3 separate regions of the Homo sapiens genome follow, and all the other regions are linked to region 2. The links are contacts of gene promoters, found by promoter capture Hi-C in blood cells and fetal thymus (Javierre and others, 2016). All regions are on one chromosome and are shown on one strand. Each heading gives the region's core, a stretch centred on a gene start or on the middle of the fragment in contact. The rest is flanking DNA. Distances are from core to core; before and after follow the strand shown. Region 1 has its middle 11 kb from the start of LY6H. Region 2 holds the start of LY6D (lymphocyte antigen 6 family member D). Region 3 has its middle 30 kb from the start of LY6H.

What was found. Contacts are between HindIII fragments. The CHiCAGO score rates a contact against its expected background, and 5 or more counts as called.
Region 1: a contact is called between a fragment that was not itself captured here and the fragment with the promoter of LY6D in region 2, in 1 of 17 cell types (M2 macrophages). The highest score is 5.0, in M2 macrophages.
Region 3: a contact is called between a fragment that was not itself captured here and the fragment with the promoter of LY6D in region 2, in 1 of 17 cell types (naive CD8 T cells). The highest score is 7.3, in naive CD8 T cells.

What each region holds. Positions count from the first base shown.
Region 1 is chr8:143,147,354-143,150,384 of GRCh38, reverse strand. No RefSeq gene overlaps it. Among named protein-coding and RNA genes, the nearest start is that of LY6H, 11 kb to the left of the region's middle. The HindIII fragment of the contact is 1,177 bases long and covers 692-1,868 here.
Region 2 is chr8:142,784,975-142,787,806 of GRCh38, reverse strand. It overlaps LY6D (lymphocyte antigen 6 family member D), which reads left to right and starts at 1,268. Exons shown (of 3, transcript NM_003695.3): 1 at 1,268-1,342; 2 at 2,120-2,218; 3 at 2,351-2,832. The coding sequence starts at 1,291. The coding sequence ends at 2,586. The HindIII fragment of the contact is 15,715 bases long and covers 1-2,832 here.
Region 3 is chr8:143,129,188-143,132,115 of GRCh38, reverse strand. No RefSeq gene overlaps it. Among named protein-coding and RNA genes, the nearest start is that of LY6H, 30 kb to the left of the region's middle. The HindIII fragment of the contact is 2,885 bases long and covers 1-2,859 here.

The sequences.
Region 1 (3,031 bases), core at 31-2,530, 360 kb before region 2:
TGATCTGCTGGCCTTGGCCTCCCAAAGTGCTGGGATTACATGCGTGAACCACCGCGCCTGGCCTGTTTCTGCATATTTAGATGGTCTCACTCATGCTCCAGTTACAAGGCTGTAATGCATAGCCTCAGACATGTCAGCTAGCTGCTGCGTGTGGGGACACATCTCCAGAGTCAGTCTTGCTGGGCCTGTAACTGATGAGTGAGCATGGTTGTCCTGGGGCTGCACACTTTCACACTTCCAGTAGCGATGCCTGAGACCACAGCTTCTCTGTTGCCGTTGGACTTCCGTGAGTCTGGTCAGCAATGAAAGACGGCATTGCAGCTGTGTTCTGAATTTTGGAAGTTGGACCACAGGTATGGGGACCTGGAGGCGCCGTCACCCTTGGCTCCTGGCACGTGCCCCTTATTGGTTCGTGCATGCCCGTCTTCTCGTTCTGGGCATTTTGATTTCTTTGTCTTTTGTTGGGGGGTGTGTGGGGATGGTTTCCATTTCTCTGGCCTCTCTGCTCATAACCTCGGTCCCTTTGCTGTGGGATGGTTGGTCTCCTTACTCTTTTCTGGGAACTTTCTGCATAGCTGGGAAATAAGCCCTTCATTTATAATAAGAGTGACACACATTTCCCCCTTTATTTTGCTTATGGTGTTTTGTGAGTTTTTTTTTCTTTTTTCTTTTTTTTTGCCACATGGAAGCTTCTTTTCCTTGAATTTTTATGGAGACACTATTACCATTATTTCTTACAGCTTCAGGATTTGAGTCATAGAAAAATCTTCCCTCCTCCGATGCTTAAAGGGAACCTCTCCTGCTTTCTTCTCAGGCGGAGCAGGGCTGGCGATTACCCAGCGCCCGATGGAGGAACCCAGTTGGAAGCTGCGTGGTGCCCAGGCCTGGGGCTCACCCCTGCACTTCGAGGCCCCGTGTGTGCTGGGGCTGTGCTGGCACTGTGGGCTGGGGGATTCAGGGCCGGGCAGCATAGGGGTGCTGTTTTCCCACACCCAGCCTCCAGTGAGTCCTCCCTCCACTGAGGGCAGGAACCTGTGGCCCCTGCAGCCTAGGGGCCTGTGGACCACGCCTCACCCCCAGGGGGTCCCAGGCCCACCACCCCTGCTCCCTGTGTTTCCTGCAGGGATGCAGAACATGCTGACTCAGACCTAAGCTCACAGGTGCAGGGGACGTCTCCCATCCCCAGAAGGGCACACGAGGGTGGTTCCTGGAATCGCCTCTCCCTGGCGTCTGTCCCTCTGCCCTGGAGCATTTCTGAGGCCCTCCCTGTGCTGTCCCATCCTGGGTGCCCGGGAGTCCCAGGCCTGGTCTTCTGTCCCCTCACTGGGCAGGGAAGGCCTGCACACGTGGGTGGCCGGTGGCCCCTGCTCCTCCTGGGCTCTGCGGTCCCCCCTTATGCTCCGGCCCCCGTGAGCCCCTTCCCACTGTAAGGCTCTAGCCCCACCTGGTGGGTGTGGGTGAACTGGAGGGGAGGGGGCTAAATGTGTTCATTGATTGACTCCACCCGGTGGCTCATTCTCTCTTGTGTTGGTTTCTGCACCTGTCCATGCTTGCTGACGTGAGTTTGAAATGCATCTGTCCGTGCCCCCTCGGCACAGCTAAGACACGCAGAGAGGAGCAGATCAGAACCAAGAGGCCCAGAGCGGGAGACAGGGGCTGCAGAGCTGGGATGGGGGCACCTGCTGCTCCCTGCAGTCTTGATGCCTGAGCTGCGGGGCTCACTCCCCTCCCATGTGGGCTTTTACCAGCGAGGCCTGTGCCCCAGGTCCTGAGCGTGGGAGGGTGTGTCAGGTGGTCATTTCTAGCAGTGAACGTTATTAGGGGACAGAGAGGACAGTGACGAACAAAACCTGGTGGCCCAAGAAGCTTGAATCCAGGAGGACCAGGCCGGCCTTAATGCCTTTGAGCCCCAGCTATGGGCTCAGGTCTGGGATCCTAGAAAGGCTGGCCAGCTGTAGTCTGCAGCCCATGATGGGGGTGGGTGCCCATCTGGGAGGTCCTGGTGGGATGCAGGAGGTGAGGCCTGACGGGCATGGGGTGGATGGAGGCGCCCAGGAGGCCCAGGACCTGGCCTGGGGAGGGCGGGCCTGGGCCACCCAGCGAGGGCATAGGTGAGTTATGGGTGGGGCAGGGCCCCCCGATGCTGACTGGGCTGAGGTGGGCACCGCAGGATACTGGGGTGGGGGCGTCCTGGAGAACTGGAAGGTGGGAGTGGCTGAGAGTCAGGCCCTCAAGGAACAGGAGAGTCTGGGGCTGGGGGCCTCCCCCGGCCCCTCGCCTGACAGTGGCCCTCCTGGCTGAAGCTCCAGAATCCCCCGGCTAGAGCAGAGCCTCTCTGCCCTCCCCACCACTGTCCTCAAGTTCCCCTAATGTCACGGGGGCTCCTTCTCTCGGCACTGGGGGCTGGCTGGAAGCAGCCATGCATCACTGGCTCAGCAATGGAGAACCAGAGGCTCTGGGAAAACCGCTGAGTGTCCAGCTGGGAAATCTCTGGGTGGGTGAGAGAGGGTTTTGAGGCAGCGGTGAGGCCAGGTCCCAGACTTCCCTGGCCCATGGCGGTGCTCGGAGCAGCGTGGCTTGGCTGTGGGTGCTGGGGCTGGGTTCGCACTCTTCCTCCCCAGGCCACTGACCCTGGCCTTCCCTCCCCTGTCCCCACACTCCCAGGTGAGATGGGTGTGGCTCTTTGGAGCAGGGATCCCGGAATTCAGGTCTGTCCAGCCAGCCCCTCAGCAGATGATCGGTAATTTTGTTAAATGAATGAATAAAGTAAAAAGAAATGGTGAGGGATAAAGAATGATCATTGAATCTGCCATAAATCATGAATTCATGTGTTTGATGAGCGGGACTGGATAGCAGGGGGCACGTGCCCGGTGGGTGGTCCGTGAGCGGTGGATGGTGATGGCGGAAGAACCCCTCTCCCTGGCTGGACCCCCCTCCCTGTGTCAGCAGCTCCTATCCATCCCCCTTCTCTCCAAACACATCCATCCCCCTTCTCTCCAAACTCATCCATCCCCCTTCTCTCCAAACACAT
Region 2 (2,832 bases), core at 19-2,518:
TCACCTTCAGCCTAGCCAGGGCAGGGGCAAAGCAAGTCTGTGGGCCCCTCCACACCACTCAGGTGGGTGCTGCCCAGCACAGGCGAGCGGCAGAGCGTGCTGGGCTGAGCAGGTGGATGGGGGCCCCAAGAGGTGGGCTCCTGCGCGAGGCGGTGGGTGCTCAGAGACCCCGTCTCCAGGGAAAGAAAGTCCCTCCTGTGAGTATAAAGAGGGTGAAGGCGGGGACTGGCCTCCACTCAACGGGCAGCAGACCAAGAACCTGCTTTGAGGCCCTGGGTGCTGGGGCCCAGCCCCAAAGAGTTCACGATTTTGGGGAGACTGGAGCCGGGACACCTAGAGCAATAGTTACAAAGTGGCCGGGATGGCGCTGCCCCCAACGTAGCAGGAGGGGCCTGGAGAGTGGGGGAAGGAATCCCACGGGGAGGGCTTCTGGGGCCCTGGAGGGCGGGAGGCAGGGCTGGTGGAGACCAGGAGGGCTCAGTCTCTCCCTGCACAACGCAGGGTGGAGTTGCTGCCTCCACAGCCCGGGCCTTCTGCCCACAGGGCTCCCCAGGCAACTTCGAGGGCCGGGTCCTCACAGTCCTCACTCTGTCCAGTGCTCACCTCACTGCTGCCCCAGCTGCCCTCCCTGCCTCGGAGTGGCCTCTGCCTCTGCCTCTGCCTCACACACCCCATCAGCCCACAGCCACCCCGAGCCCTTGCAGCTCAAGGACCTTCTGCATCCCCGGCAGCAACCCTGAGCCCAGAGCCAGGAGAGTAGGACCAGCACCTGCCCTTCCTACCTCCCCTGCCCTGGACACCCACGGGCACCCACAGGGCACCGGGCACAGGCTGCAACTCTATTGAGGGAACTATGGGGGGAATGCAGGGACAAAGACACAGGATGGTGATGGATGGTGGGGGGTGGGGGGCGGGGGGTAGCGGGTGGCAGGTCAGAGACAAAGTGACCCAGGAACGGACGGCAGCGAGAGAACAAGACCCACAGAGACAGAGAAGTGAAAGTGGGAGAGATGGAGGCACAGCAGCAGGAACAGCAGGGCCAGGAGGCCACTGGGCCCCGTTGCGGAGGGCAGACCTCTGCCTGGCGGGGGGCAGCAGGGGCAGCGCCCAGCGACAGCCAGGCTGGTGGGCGTGGGCCAGGCAGGGTGGGGCAGGTGCCCGTCCTGGGCTGACGCTTGCACAGAGCCCTGCAGAATGCCGCTGGCTGGCGGACTGCCCACCCCCGCCCAGCCCGTGCCTATAAGGCCTTGGCAATGCAGGGGCCCGCACTGCTCCCAGACGACATCAGAGATGAGGACAGCATTGCTGCTCCTTGCAGCCCTGGCTGTGGCTACAGGGCCAGGTGAGGGGCTGGGCCAAGGGGACGGGCGGGTGGGCGGCTGTGGCCTGTGTGGTCACCAAATACTAGGAGCCTGGAGCTGACGACATCTAGGCACAGAGAACCCCGACACTGTGGGTGCTAGACTCTTCAAATTTAAAACAACATGGAGCCCGAATCTTAACGAGTGTCAGATTTACAATGTTTCAGAATCTGAGGATCTTAGAACTGACTCCTGGAGTCACGGACCCTGAGAGAGTGGAGCAGGGGGTTGTCTTGAGATGCTTCTCACTGGGAGAGCGGCCATCTAGTCCCTGCCACCAGCCCCTCCCGGTCCCCAGGTCTCCCCCAGCACAGCCCAGGACAGCCCAAAGGCCACCAAGCCCTTCCTGTCATAGGCTCAGAGCAGCCAAGCTGGCTGCCCCCGGGGCCTTAGCTCCGTCAGGCCCTCAGAAACATAGCCATCTCCTCCAGGGACATCCCCTGGGGTGGGGACAAGAGCCAGTGTCCTCTTGGCAGTCGCAGAGCTCCCTGAGACCTTGGAGGAAAGGCTTGCAACACACCCTAGACAGGGGCAGGGCAGGACACCTCTTCCAAGCCGGCCCAGGCTGGAATACATGTCCCCTGAGGCTGCACTCAGGGCACATGCCCTGCCAGGACCCAGAGCCCGGGTTTGGGGGCCTAGGGCAAGGGCAGCAGGGCCTCTGTCCAGGAGGGGTCTCTGCAGGTGGGGGAGCAGGCCCTGCTGAGTCACCAGGAGGCCTCTGTTGGGCCCGCTGAGCCGGACTCCCTCCCCGCCAGCCCTTACCCTGCGCTGCCACGTGTGCACCAGCTCCAGCAACTGCAAGCATTCTGTGGTCTGCCCGGCCAGCTCTCGCTTCTGCAAGACCACGAACACAGGTGGGTAGCATCTGTCCAGGTGTCCCTGGGGCTGGGGGACATCCCTGGCTGTTGTGGGTGTTGGCTGGAAGGTTGTGGGGAGGTGGGGGGCAGAGGTGGCTGCCTGGCCTGACCACACTCACCTGTGCCCAGTGGAGCCTCTGAGGGGGAATCTGGTGAAGAAGGACTGTGCGGAGTCGTGCACACCCAGCTACACCCTGCAAGGCCAGGTCAGCAGCGGCACCAGCTCCACCCAGTGCTGCCAGGAGGACCTGTGCAATGAGAAGCTGCACAACGCTGCACCCACCCGCACCGCCCTCGCCCACAGTGCCCTCAGCCTGGGGCTGGCCCTGAGCCTCCTGGCCGTCATCTTAGCCCCCAGCCTGTGACCTTCCCCCCAGGGAAGGCCCCTCATGCCTTTCCTTCCCTTTCTCTGGGGATTCCACACCTCTCTTCCCCAGCCGCAACGGGGGTGCCAGGAGCCCCAGGCTGAGGGCTTCCCCGAAAGTCTGGGACCAGGTCCAGGTGGGCATGGAATGCTGATGACTTGGAGCAGGCCCCACAGACCCCACAGAGGATGAAGCCACCCCACAGAGGATGCAGCCCCCAGCTGCATGGAAGGTGGAGGACAGAAG
Region 3 (2,928 bases), core at 168-2,667, 340 kb before region 2:
CGATTGCAATGTTAATGAAGCCACCACGTGCATTCAGTAAGGGATCTTTAAATAGAAACACAGAGAATGAGATGATATATTGATCGGCTGATGAAAACGGAGCCAGAGGCTTGCGGGACCCTAACCCTGTGTGTCTGCTAGCAGCAGGGGCTCAGCGTTCTCTAACTCAGCCTTCGCAGGGGCTCTGCAGACTGGAGCTAAGGTGGGTTGTGAGAAGTGGTGGCAGGTGCAGCCCAGGAGAGCCTTGCAAACAGCTGCCTTAGATGACCGGGTCTCGAGAGCTGTGTCAGACAGCGTGGGGTTGGTTTTCTGGGCCTCCATCGCCTGCTCTTTGGCTGGGGCATGAAGAAGCTAAACGGTGGTTTCTTCCTTGGCCAGGAAAGGAGGACACACTGTTAGGTTTTTCAGTTTCCTAACAGTTGTCCAAAGAGAATCAGAACTGCCAGTGGGAAGAGGAATATTTAAGGGGAATAATCCCGGCTCTGATTATCCACGCATAGGGAGGATAATCCAGTCCAGCCGGCTCAGGGGCTCAGGTGGGTTCCATCACGGTCTTTGTTCACCCATGAGAACGCGGCTGAGGGAGCAGGGGGCCTCATTCCGGGCACATGCGGCCCACACAGCTGTCCTTTTACATTGGTGGCACTCAGGCTGCGGGAGAACAGCGATGGGTTGAGGGGCCGTTGTCAGCACTGCTCCCTCAGGACTCAGGCTACTGCCCGGCCCCGACCTGGCCTCTGACCTCTACAGCATCAGATGCCAGGGATGAGAGTGTTCAGTAGCCCCTCCTGGGTGAGGAAGGATGCACACTGGCCCAGGGCTGGGGACGGGTGTCCGATTTCCATCGATTCCCGTATGAGTGGCCTTTACAGCCTCCCGGGCCTGTGTCTGGATCCTGGAAGAGGTCGCCCTCTGCTGTCCCTACTCAGGATAACAAGCCTCCTGCTCTTCATGATGAGCGTGCAGGGACACTGTTTCTGCCGCACTCAGGGCCCCAAGACCAAATTCTAAAATCTCCCCAAACCTTCAGCAGGGTGGGGCCAACCCTCATGAGACCAATGCATCTGTTTCTGCCTGGAGATCGCTGGGGCTGGTTCACACTTGGCACGTTCGGACTCGCAGATCAAGCTCTGAGGCAGGGAGGAGGCAGCAATGCCCCCTCCACATGCAGGCAGCGCCTGGCAGGTCCGGGGTCACCCCAGAGTGGAGGCCAGGCTCCTGGGCATTCCCCACCCTGGGATCCCTGCACTGTTCTCATCTGTCCTCCGAGAGGGGCAGACGGCAGCGACGGCTGGAGGCCGCACTCATGGGCACTGCAGACTTAGAGAAGCCAAAGTGCGTTTTATGCTGAGCCAAGAGTGAGTGGCAACCCGGAACACAGGTTCCATCGGCTGAGGAGGCAGGAGGGGTGGTTCCACAGCCTGAGAGGGGCAGTGCGCTCAGGGGGACCTCGCAGTCCTGCCTGGCCTCGGTGCCTTGTACACAGGTGGAGTGGACACGTGGCTGGCACACAGGGTGGAAAGCTGGCACCTACTGGAGCCTCAGGGTCTGCAGGGGCGACTGTTCTGTCCTGCCTCATCTGACAGGCACGGCAGTGACCAGGACACGTCAGTGAGACAATGCAGATTCCAGCCTCATAGGCCAGGCCTGCCTCCTACTACCCGTGTGGCCAAACTGCAGCCATCTTGGTCCACTTTTGAAAATGTTTCTTTCGGATCTTTCTGGCTGGTGCCTCTGCTGCGGAATAGCAGCTCCAGTGGGTTACCTGTCAGGAGCGCCCCTGGAGGTGCAGCTTCCCTCGTGCTCTGAATTACTCAGGTGAAGTCAGCAGGAATCCGATTCCCATCTCTGGGAAAAGCACCTCTGGCTTCTTTATCATCAGCCTTTACTTGGCCCCAGGTCTGGGAGAGGTGGCAAGAGTATTACCCTCTTGCTCTAGGGCCATCACGGAAGGAGCCACTTGCACCCCTGCAGGATCACGGGACCCTGTGGGTATCCCCCTGCCTGCAGGAGCCCCCCATTTCCACGGTTCCTGTTGGATCCCCCACTGCAGCTCTGCCTTCGAGCAGGCACCCGGCACAGCCCTGTGGTGCTGTGTCTCGGCCTGCTGCTGCCACAGGACTCGCCGGTGAGGAGCCACGGGGCAGCCCTCCTGCTGGCCACATTTGCAGGAAGTCCCGCCATGGGGTCCAGTCATGACCAGTCTAATGTCCCTTCTGGAGCCTGTGCCGCCCACTTTAGTGCTTGGGCATGGGGTCCTGGGACCACTGGCTCAGGCAGAAGAAGAGAAACCTTTGGGAGGTGGGGAAGGTACAGAGGGTCCAATTGCACCCCCCACACGCCCTCCTCCTTCCCCCAGCCCTGAAGCCTGTGAGCGGCCTGCCTGCCTTCCCCTCAGGCTCAGTCTGAAGACACCCCAGTTAAGCGACTCCACCAACTGGTCACGTTTCTCACACCTGCCTGAATAACCTGTCTTCCAGTGGCCCATTGCAATTTTCAGCATGGCCACAGCTGGACGGGACGAGCAGTGTGGTGCACACGTATGCTTGCCGTGTTTCCTGGACCGTCTCAGTGTCCTGGTGCCAGCAAGAGTGGGTACCTGGATCAGAAGAAGTAGGTCCAAGTCGGCTGAAATTGACAGAGGACTCACCATTCTAAACACCTCATGCTGTTCCCAAGGTTGCTTCTGTTACAAATAAGCCAAGTCCAGAATAGAGTGTCGTGAGAGCGTGAGATACAGCTTAGCTCCTTCCTGGAATCTCTGGAGTGACAAGAGTCTCTTTTGTAGTGAGTGTGATGAAGTTTGGGTTGATCATCAATAGCCAACGATGCAATCAATCATGTATATGTAATGAAGCTTCCATAAAAACCCAAAAGGAGCTTTCAACAGTTGGACGCACGCAGGTGCCTGGAGGACGGCGCCCAGGA